Regions from separate parts of the Homo sapiens genome. Here region 2 is linked to region 1. The links are contacts of gene promoters, found by promoter capture Hi-C in blood cells and fetal thymus (Javierre and others, 2016). All regions are on one chromosome and are shown on one strand. The core of a region is centred on a gene start or on the middle of the fragment in contact, and the rest is flanking DNA. Distances in the headings are between cores, read along the strand shown. Region 1 holds the start of TREX1 (three prime repair exonuclease 1). Region 2 holds the start of NCKIPSD (NCK interacting protein with SH3 domain).

What was found. Contacts are between HindIII fragments. The CHiCAGO score rates a contact against its expected background, and 5 or more counts as called.
Region 2: the fragment with the promoter of NCKIPSD here is called in contact with the fragment with the promoter of TREX1 in region 1 in 4 of 17 cell types (M2 macrophages, M0 macrophages, M1 macrophages and 1 more); the score reaches 10.3 in M2 macrophages.

What each region holds. Positions count from the first base shown.
Region 1 is chr3:48,464,343-48,467,479 of GRCh38, forward strand. It overlaps TREX1 (three prime repair exonuclease 1), which reads left to right and starts at 1,888. Exons shown (of 2, transcript NM_033629.6): 1 at 1,888-1,967; 2 at 2,288-3,137. The coding sequence starts at 2,314. ATRIP (ATR interacting protein) reads left to right here. Exons shown (of 13, transcript NM_130384.3): 11 at 240-320; 12 at 489-741; 13 at 1,145-3,137. The coding sequence ends at 1,212. ATRIP-TREX1 (ATRIP-TREX1 readthrough) reads left to right here. Exons shown (of 15, transcript NR_153405.1): 12 at 240-320; 13 at 489-741; 14 at 1,145-1,967; 15 at 2,288-3,137. RefSeq lists enhancers at 1,114-1,203, 1,816-2,697, 2,284-2,483, 2,698-3,137. The HindIII fragment of the contact is 3,980 bases long and covers 259-3,137 here.
Region 2 is chr3:48,680,582-48,688,257 of GRCh38, forward strand. It overlaps NCKIPSD (NCK interacting protein with SH3 domain), which reads right to left and starts at 5,334. Exons shown (of 13, transcript NM_016453.4): 1 at 5,056-5,334; 2 at 2,322-2,431; 3 at 1,767-1,971; 4 at 1,464-1,575; 5 at 706-1,199. The coding sequence starts at 5,226. IP6K2 (inositol hexakisphosphate kinase 2) reads right to left here. Exons shown (of 6, transcript NM_016291.4): 6 at 7,422-7,676. RefSeq lists silencers at 4,842-5,561, 4,955-5,249 and enhancers at 5,446-6,177, 5,772-5,841, 7,224-7,676. The HindIII fragment of the contact is 7,513 bases long and covers 4,447-7,676 here.

The DNA of each region.
Region 1 (3,137 bases), core at 638-3,137:
ATCCTGTCTTGGCTTTGGGACGTGGGGGCAGAATAGGGGGCTGGAGGCAGGTGGGTTGCTGGTGACACATGAGTGCTTGTCCTGGGTCTTCCCTGGGAAGGTCCCACACCACTTCTTGGACCCCATTTGTGCAGACAAACAGTTGCTGAAGCAAGTGAACTCTTATAGAAGCTTAAGAAAACCCTCGCAGGGACTGGTCTCCTTCTGCCCAGGATGGAACCAATCTGTTCTTGTTCTAGGTGGTGTGGCTCCTGGCTAAGCTTGGTGTGCAGAGCCCCTTGCCCCCAGTCACTGGCTCCAACTGCCAGTGTAATGTGGAGGTGAGTGGGTAGGGGCCAACAGCTGGCAGCTCTGGTGGTAAGGGGGCCCCGTGCAAGGACTGTAGGCCCCACTGCAAACCCCCTCACGTGAGGTGGCTAGGCTGAGCGGATTGTTAGGGTGCAGGCCATGGTGGCACCAGGCCTCAGTCTGCACCCCCCCTCTCTCAGGTGGTCAGAGCGCTCACGGTGATGTTGCACAGACAGTGGCTGACAGTGCGGAGGGCAGGGGGACCCCCAAGGACCGACCAGCAGAGGCGGACAGTGCGCTGTCTGCGGGACACGGTGCTGCTGCTGCACGGCCTATCGCAGAAGGACAAGCTCTTCATGATGCACTGCGTGGAGGTCCTGCATCAGTTTGACCAGGTGATGCCGGGGGTCAGCATGCTCATCCGAGGGCTTCCTGATGTGACGGACTGTGAAGGTAAGCCTGCCAGAGGCCATCCTGCCCAGCCCCCATGGCTTCTTCCAGAGGTTCCCCAACAAGTCAGATTCCTGGGTGTCCCCTCAGCAGGCCCCCGCCCACTGCAGCCTGTTCCAGCACTGGGGCCATTTTCTTTTATCTTCCTGCCTCAGTTCTTCTCCAAGCATATTGGGATGCCTTTTGCATCTATCTGTTGAGTGTGCCTGGCAGAGCCACGGTTTTTCCAGAAATAGCCGTGTCTGAATTGCCTTTGTATCACTTTGTTTGCAGTAGCTGAGGGAGCAGGGCCTGGGTGTGGAAGGGACTGGTTAGTTCCTGCGGACGTTGGGGGAGGAGAGGTGGGACCTGCCCTAGGCCCTGGCACCTTTGGGCCCTCACCAGGAACCTCTCCTTTTTGTCTCAGAGGCAGCCCTGGATGACCTCTGTGCCGCGGAAACCGATGTGGAAGACCCCGAGGTGGAGTGTGGCTGAGGCCCTGAGTGTCCAGCCACATGGTGGCACCAGCACCACTCCTTTCCTTACCACATCAACTGATTAAAGCAGTGACCAGCAGGAACTGCCCAGAGAACTGGCTGGCCTTGTTTCCTGAGTCTGATCTGTTTGGCGGAGTGGGAGGGGTGGAGCAGGACCCGGACCCTGAGTGGCTGGGATCCTTCTTCCTGTCCCTGGCTGTTGCTGAGCCCGTCCCCATGGTAACTGATCTGCCTTGAGGAAGGAGCCCTGCCCTGCCTGTGGAATTGTCCTGAGTCATTGCTTTGGGCTGGGGCCATGGGAAGAAACCATTGTGTGGCAGGGAAGGAGGTGGCTCTTGGCCCAGGCCTAAACCAGGAAAGCCTGGGAAACTGGGACCCACAGGTGGGCATGAAAGGGCCGCAGCAGGGGCTCCCAGCAGTGTGTAAGACCGGGAGCTGGTCTGGCACCACTGCCCTGGTCCTTCCAGCTGCCTGTCACTGGTATGATGGCCCCGGTGCATTGTGCCACCAGCAGGCCACAGCTGTGGATCTTGGAAGGCCTCTGGGGTCCCCCGGGAGCAGGGGAGTGGGTGTGGGGGGGAACGGATGGTGGTGAGAGGGACAGACCAGGCAGGCTGACGAGCAGGGCGGGCCTGGCTCACGTGGGCCTGTAGGCGGGCCCACGCCAAGTTTCACTTCCCGCCACTGCTGCCAGCGAGAGCCGCGGGAGAGTGTGCAGCCGAGTCACTACTGCCTGCCTGCCTGCCTGCTACGGTGAGTGTGGCCCCCACAATGGGATGGCGCAGGGCAGGAGGGCCATGGGTTCCCCCACCCCAGACTAAGGGGGCACTAGGGGAGGGGCCGAGTCATGTGAAGAGGGAGACCCTCTCAGACAGTCGAATGTGCTGGTCCCACTAAGGAAACCACCTCACCCTCTCCAACTTCCTGCCTGAAAATGGGCCCTGGAGCTCGCAGACAGGGCAGGATTGTGCAGGGAAGGCCTGAGATGTGCTTCTGCCCACCCCCTACCCCACTCCCTCCCCTTCGGATCTTAACACTGGGCACTCACACACCCACCCCATGCTCCTCTCCAGGCTCAGCAGCAGGTACGTACCCAACCATGGGCTCGCAGGCCCTGCCCCCGGGGCCCATGCAGACCCTCATCTTTTTCGACATGGAGGCCACTGGCTTGCCCTTCTCCCAGCCCAAGGTCACGGAGCTGTGCCTGCTGGCTGTCCACAGATGTGCCCTGGAGAGCCCCCCCACCTCTCAGGGGCCACCTCCCACAGTTCCTCCACCACCGCGTGTGGTAGACAAGCTCTCCCTGTGTGTGGCTCCGGGGAAGGCCTGCAGCCCTGCAGCCAGCGAGATCACAGGTCTGAGCACAGCTGTGCTGGCAGCGCATGGGCGTCAATGTTTTGATGACAACCTGGCCAACCTGCTCCTAGCCTTCCTGCGGCGCCAGCCACAGCCCTGGTGCCTGGTGGCACACAATGGTGACCGCTACGACTTCCCCCTGCTCCAAGCAGAGCTGGCTATGCTGGGCCTCACCAGTGCTCTGGATGGTGCCTTCTGTGTGGATAGCATCACTGCGCTGAAGGCCCTGGAGCGAGCAAGCAGCCCCTCAGAACACGGCCCAAGGAAGAGCTATAGCCTAGGCAGCATCTACACTCGCCTGTATGGGCAGTCCCCTCCAGACTCGCACACGGCTGAGGGTGATGTCCTGGCCCTGCTCAGCATCTGTCAGTGGAGACCACAGGCCCTGCTGCGGTGGGTGGATGCTCACGCCAGGCCTTTCGGCACCATCAGGCCCATGTATGGGGTCACAGCCTCTGCTAGGACCAAGCCAAGACCATCTGCTGTCACAACCACTGCACACCTGGCCACAACCAGGAACACTAGTCCCAGCCTTGGAGAGAGCAGGGGTACCAAGGATCTTCCTCC
Region 2 (7,676 bases), core at 4,084-6,583, 220 kb after region 1:
TTTTCCTTGAACCCTGCTGACCAGGCACTAGCTGTTGTGCCCAGCACAGCCAAGCCCATTGGCCCACTCCCCAACACCCAAACCAGAAGTGTAACAGGAACCATGGAGCACTAAAGAGGGACCTTTGGTCTGTCTGACCCCCATCATGTATGCTGGGCTCACTGCCCCCATCCTGCTCATGAGTGCCAAGGATCCCACCCATCCCATGATGCCCACACACCTCACTCCCTCTCATCCATGTCAGCACCTAGGACTCCATCCCAGCTCTCCCAGCACCCATGTCTCTTACTGCCAAGGTCAGCAAGGCACTACCCTCACCCACGCCGTGTCCATTCCTTCCCTGCAGCCAGACAGAACTCTTGGCCACCCGCATGTCGTCTTATCTGTCACCTGCCCCAGGTCTCACCTCCTCCTACAGCACCCACTCCCTCACTCCCTGTGTTCCAGTCCTGCAGGCCTTGTTCCACTTCCTCCCACAAGCCAGGCTCAGTCCTGCCTTGTGGCCCTTGTCCAGGCTGCGCATCTGCCTGGAATGCTTGTCCTTCCTTTCTGCTTCAGAAATCAGCTCAACGTCCCCAGTGCCCAGCACAGTAAGAGCTCAGAGCCAGAGCTTGAGAAATACCTGTAATGTACAGGCTGGACAAGTGTGTGACGGTGGGAACAGGGTGGGTAGCAGGGTGGCCCTGCTGTGCCGCCCACCCTCACCTTGCCCTCTACGAGTGAGAGGAGGACCTGCTCCATGACTGGTGAGCTGGCCGGCACCGAGGCCTGGATGTGACCCACTATGATGCCGATGGCCACCCGGCATAATTCGTGGCTCAGGCCAGTGTTTCTCCGCACCAGCTCCATCAGCTCGGCCCCAATGGTCCTGGGCACAGCCGCCTCAGCTGCTGCCTTCTCCTCTGTGGTCCCCAGGCTCAGTGTACCCAGGGCTTCCAGGTCATCAGAGGCTGAGGTTGTACCAGTTGCCACTTCTTCTTCTGCAGGGGGTTCAGGTGCTGATGCCTTGGAGGGAGGGGGCTGGACTTGGGACACGGTGGTGTGGGTGCCTCGGCGGGGCACAGGTGGGGGTGTGGGTGAGCAGCTGGAGCCTGGTTCAGATGGGCTGGAGCTGGTATAGAGCGTGTCCAGGGAGGTGCTGCTGACTGAGGAGCCGCTGGACACAGAGTTACCCCCGGAGGGCATGGTGTTGTGGCCACCTGCGAGCAGTGAGTAGAAGCTGGGCCAGGGCAGCCCCCTGGAAAACCATACCCTTCACAGCCCAGATCCCCTGTCCCCTAACACAGGGCCTAGTTTCTCTGCTAGGCACTGCCTCCTCACAAAGCCCAGAGCCCCTAATTGCCCCAAAATGGGAGTCCTGTCCTCTTCCCCAGCTTAGAGCCTCCATTTCCCTGACACAGGCAGCACAACCATTCCAAGCATAGGGTGCCTCCACCTGAATTCCCCTAACCCTGCCTTCTTACCACTCCCAGAGGCCATCAGGGCCTCGCGGTCTCGGCGCTTCACTGGTGGGGGCGGTGTGGTGGGTGCTGCTCGGCGAGGCTGTGGTGGGATCTGGGAAGATGGAAGTGGGATCTGGAAGATGGAAGTAGGATCTTGGAGGACAGACTGACATCTAGAGCGTCAGCGAGGCTCGGGCCCTGAGCCCTGGCTGTGGGCAGGACTATGGCTCTGGGCCGCATCACTCCTGAGTGGACCCCTTGAGCCTCTGGATGAAGCCTCAAGTTCCACCCACCTCCCTTCTCCACGATGTCCTCCCCACACACCTGGTAGAGGCCTCCATCTGCCCCAAGATGCTCAGAACTGGGTAGGCTGTGCTGCCGCTCGAACCCAGCTCGACACACCCCATTGGGCTGCCTGGCTGCAGCAGCATCCAAGTGGTGGTCACTGGTTGATGAGGTCATAACTGCAACACTGGAGGCTGAAGGGCCTCTGCGTGACAGGGTCTCTTTCCGGTGGTGGATCAGCTTCCTGATGGAAGGACAGGAAGACTATTGGGGGGTTGCATCTCACAGCTCAAAGTCCTCATATGCCCCTGTGGGATGCTGGGACCCCATAGCCCAGGCCCCTCAGACATCCCCATCTCCTCCATGCTCCACCCCAGCCTACAGTACCCCATACTATCCTCAGTCCTGCGCTCTGCACACCCCTGGTGCTCACTGAAGGACCCGACCCCACCTTGCTCACTGGGAGGTGCCATTCCCCCACCACCCTTGCCAACCCTCGCATTTCCCAGGCCCACCTGCCCCATGACACTCATTGAAGAACCCCACCCCACCATGCTCACCGGGAGGTCCCACTTCACTCCCCTCAACACTCACTGGAGGACTCCACGCTGTTCCAGGCTGTACTTGCCACCATCCCGCATGGCTGTGTTGTGTACAGCCTCGATGGCCCGGTCAATGGCCTGGAGGACATCCTGCTCCAGGCCCTGGGGGGGGCAGGGGACAGCAGTTAGACCTGAAGGCCAAACGGAGGTGCTCAGCCCAGGCCCAGCCCGAGATAGAACCCAGGGCAGAGAACCAATATAGCGAAAGCCTGGAATGCTAGACATAGCACAAAAAGTTGAACCAGAATATGGAATGGGGTTCTCAAACTGTATCACTCAGGGAGCTGAGGCACAGGGTGACCCCCATGCTGCCACATTACATATTAGGTCCTGATCAGGATTTTACCCCACAGCAAGGCTCTTGGCTAAGATGTTTCTGAAAATCAGAGGTCTAAAGCAAAAACATAGCCCAGGGGCTCCCAGCTTGCAGCCAGGAGCGCATACCTCGTCTATCCCTGGTCTTGGCTCAGAGCCCAGGTTGAGATGCCAAACAGGAAGTCTCCAGTATCTGGAATCCTTAATACATCACTCTGCATCTTGCTGATCTTTCACAAAACCAAGGTCATACCCCAGAACAGCCCTGTCCTTGTAAGGGCCCTCTGTAAGCCCTGGGAGCTGAGAATGGGTCAAAGGGACTTGCCCTCCCCAACCCTGCTGCTGGCCCTCATCCCCACAAGATGTCTCAGTAAGCTTCCAAACCCACCCTGGGAAGCAGTTCTGTGTTTGTGGCAAAGGATAAACATGAGAGAGGGGCCTAGCCCCTGTTCCAGGCTCTGTACTGCCATCCCCAACATTCCAGGGATCCAGTCTACTCTGCCTATCTGACATGGGGAGTGTAGGGTAGCAGCTATCAAACCAGCTACCCCCAGCCCTCCCCTGGCCCTGGCACACGTAGTCCATCAGGCTACATAGGAGTCCCGGAGCTGAGATGAACTCATTCCACCATGGGTTTGAGAAGCTTCCCTGATGGGCACAGACAGGTGGGCACAGAGGTCAGCAAAGCCCTCCAGGTGGTATGAGGTGTGCCAGAGTGCAGGGAGAGGAGACAGGGGGATAGAAAGACATGAAGACACACACACACACACACACACACACACACACACACACACAGAGAGAGAGAGAAAGAAAGGAATGGGGAAAGAGAGGAGCTCAGAGAGGAACGGAGAGGCAGACAGAGGGAAACAACGCAGAAAGAAACAGAGCCAAAGCCAGAGTGTGGGGGGAGCCGGAGGAAGAAACAAAAACACACACATGTGGAGTCGGAACGACACAGGCAGAGAGGCACAGAGTCGCAGCAATCCAGACAGAAAGAGACACGCAGAAAGAAACAGACAGTGACAGAGAAGATGGTAGCCTCTCTGCCCTCCCCAAACACCTTGCCCCACTGGTCCTGGCTGGCGGCAGGGGACTCACAGGCCCTTGACCTATGCCCAGTAGGGGAAGAGACAGGACTTTTCCTCAGAGGCCTTCAATGAGACCCCATTCCCAAAAAGGTTGGGTCTGACACACAGCAGCCATGGTGTCCACGGCCCCCACTCCCACCCCTGGCACTCCTAGATGGGATCACGCCAAGGGTCTATGAGGAAGCCCCTAGGCCCCCAGGGCCCATCCTTCCTGGTAAGACCAGATGACACTTCCAAATTTATCCCGTTATTTCTGTCCTGAACTGGGCTGGGACAGGATGTTTCCTAAAGGATAAGGACTAGGACGGGGCGGGGGTGTCTGGCACAGGCCCGGCAGCTCTGGGCCCTTCTTCCCCCTGTGGTCAGAATAGACCAGCTGGAGATACGCACCCCAACCCCCGCAGCAGGGCTACTCTTAGGGAAACAGGAACTGGGACTGCAGCTTCCACTGGAAGGAAATGGGGCCACGATCAGACCAGGAGAAGCTATAAGAACTCACTTCATCACAATGTGAGCAGTCCCCACTCCAGGCTGGGAACAAGTAGGGATGGAACCCATTTTCAAAGCAAGAAAGTTTGAGAAGTCAGGGTTGGGGAGTGGAGCAGACAGTGTCAGCAGGGGCATGGGTCCTTGGTTCAAATAAGGTTGGTAGAGACTTAAGAAGAGCTTAGAGGGTGGCTGAACACAGGCTAGTGAAAGACACTGAAGTACCAAAGCTTGGGTGTTACATAGGGGATGGAGGTGTCTATGGCTCTAGGGTCCAAGTTGGGGGGTTGAGGACCTGGAGAATGGCTAGGGAAACAGGTGGTGTCCAAGGTGGTCCAGGTCTCAGTGGTGGCTCCAACGGGGGGCAAGGCGCGGGGTTGGGGGAAGAAGGAAGGGAGGGAGGGAGGGAGGGAGGGAGGGAGGGAGGGAGGTTGGTTGTGGGGTCCTAGGAATCCAGAGAAGGGGCATATTAAGGATCTGGGGTCTCAGGGATTTGAATAATTGGCCAGGATTCGGTGGGGCTCAGGGTCGCCATTCAGATGGCGGACTCGATACTGAAGGGTCTGGGGTCCTGAGGAGTCTCAGTCCCAGAGTTAGGCTTTTGGTCGATCGGGAGTTGGTCTGTCAAGGGCCTGGTCTTTTGTGGGTGATGCTGACACTTGGGGTCTCAGTCCCCGTGGGTCCGGGGGTCTCAGGGTCAGGTTCTCAAACTCCCTGTCTGATAGAGGTCCTGGCCTCGGGTCCCGGAGAGGGTGGGGTCCCTGGGTCGGTTCCGCGGGGCTGTGAAGGGGTCCTGCCCCAGGGGCGCGGAGGCCGGGCGGGAAGGGGCGCACTCACCTGCAGGCGGCGCAGGTAGGCTGGCGGCACGTAGCCCGTCTCACCACTGCGCGCCCGCGCGGCCAGCCACCAGTGCGCGCTGCTTCGCTCTAGCACCAGGAAGGTCTCGCCCGCGGCGAACGCCAGCGCGTTGGGCTCCGCCGAGCGGAACGCGTACAGCGCGCGGTACATGAGGCCGGGCAGGGCAGGTGCAGGGAAGGTGGCAAGGGCTGCGGCGCCACAACGCCAGGCCGGGAGCGCCGAGCCGCGCCGCGGTTGTCCCGCCCCGTGACACACTACGCAGGCGCGCGCGCGCCCGCCCGCCGAAGCCCCGCCCCGGGCTGTATCGTTCCACGCATCGGAGAGCAGCGCCCCCGCGCGGCCCCAAGAGGTGCGGCGGGGCTGGGGTCGACAGCTCGCTGTCTCCTCTGGTCCCTCCCGGCTCCAGGCCCCTCATCCCCGGACACCGCACCCTCACTCCTCACCCCGGCCTCAGTTTCACCCGTCCAGCCCTCTGCTCCCTTTCCCCGCTTAAGTCCGAGCGCTGCGTCCCGTCCTACCTCCCGGTGAAAGCGCGCTCCGCTCGTAGCGGGTGCGCCCCTACCGCCCTGGGGCAGTGGGTCCCATCTACTAATTGCAAGGACGGCGACCTCGAAAGGATGATCTTGCTGATCCGACACTTGGAAGCCCCCGCGGGGCCCGGCTCTCGGTGTGTCTAGGCCTCACCACCTGTCTTCACCGAGTGCCGGTGGTGGCCAGTGGGGAGCAAGTGTGGGGAGAAGGGGGCCACAAAAGCAGAAACCAGGCGGGGCTATTCCCTGTCTAAAGCCCTCCCATCTTTGCTCCCCACCCCTACTCCTCCTCTCTCTTCAGCTATGGCTGGTTTTCTCTATATTGGGCCTTTGCATATTCTGTTCCCTCTACCTGGGACAATTTTCCCTTCCCTCTCCTATAGTATTTGTCCGTCAAGCTCCCACCCCCATCAATCGCTATCATCTTGCTGTGTTTTATTGTCTTTATAGGACTTAAGATTTGCGATGCCCCTTTCTGAGAGCATAGAGGAGGGCTGAAAGAGGGAGTGGGGTACCACGGTGGCCTTAAGAGCCTATTTGATCCACCCAGCTTTCCAGTCAGCCCAGATCTCCAGATATATGAAATCCGTGTAATAAGAGTGCCTGGAAGACCCAGGGAAGAGGCCCTCAGGGTCCTGGAGAGACTGTGGCTGAGAATGGTCCAGCTACGCTCCACAGGAAGCCCGAGCCCAGGAAGCAGGAGGCGTGTACAGGCCAGTGTGTGCAAGTTTTCTATTTTTATCTGTATTTATTTTTTGAGACAGGGTCTTGCTCTGTCGTCCAGGCTGGAGTGCAGTGGGATGATCAAGCTCATTGCAGCCTTGATCTTCCAGGCTCAAGCCTACTGTCTCTGGGACTACAGGCATGCACCACCACACTCAGCTTTTTTTTTTTTTTTTTTTTTTTTTTTTTTTAGTAGAGACAAGGTCTTGCTATGTTGCTCTGGCTAGTCTCAAATTCCCGGACTCAAGCAGTCCTCCCAGTGTTGGGATTATGGGTGTCTGTCTGACCCAGTTGCCTATTTTTAGGCCTAAAGTACATAGGCCTAGTGTGAGGTTCAGGTGAGGGGTAGAACTGCTAGAAACTGACATCCAGACCCTGCCTTCTCTGCACCAGGTCTGGCTCTTCAGTTCAAGACCTCTCTTGGCCCTTCCTCCTCCCAGAAGCCCTCCTGGGGCAGGGCAGAATCTCGGGGTCTGTGCTGTCTGGGACTGCCTGAAGAATAAGACTGGTGAAATTGCAATGGGGACTAGGGCTGGGCAGGAGTGGTGACAGGTGGTGTGGCCAAGAGGACCACCCTACCTGCCCAAACACGCCTTTTTATGGTACCCTCCATCACCTGGGCCCCTTTACAACACAGTCCATGGCTGCCAATGGACCAGACCCGAGGCTAGAGACCCTAGTATTGCTTCCAGGACATCTATCACAATAGCCAGCCAATTAGCTGCTGCCAGTGGCATAGGAGGGATTAAAAGCTGGACCCAAGGTTTGGATCACCTGCTATCTAATTGGCTTAAGCTGCATACGGCCCATGAGAAGACCTGTGTCAAGCGTCATGTGGTTTTTGGATAGAGGTGCTGAGACACTTAGCCAGCACAGACGCCAGAAGGTATGTAACTTGGGGATCCTTTCTGGGTAACCTTCAGGATGCTGGGTTGGAGACTGTACACCATGCCAAGAGGTTGTGCTGACTTTAGGATCCATGGAGTGGGGGTGGCAGCCAGGAGAATACTGAGCCAGGGAGGTGGTCACAGCATGTGGTGAGGCTTGGGAGGGGGACTGCCTGCTCTTGGAAAGAATGACAGGAGCACTATATACAATAAACAAAAAGATTTGTATTAGAACATATACACTCAGGGAAGAAAGAGGTATCATCATCAAATGTGGAATGTTGAAGAAATAGTTAAAATAAATAAAGACTCCAAGCACAGCTGGGACTGGCTCAGGCTGGGGCTCACAGAGGCCACTGCACATCAGCTCCAGGCTGCAGGAGCCACCACCTGGCCATACTGGCTTCCTCCCTGACGCAGCACAGCTGTGCCTGGGACACAGAGTCGCTCTCAAGTACTG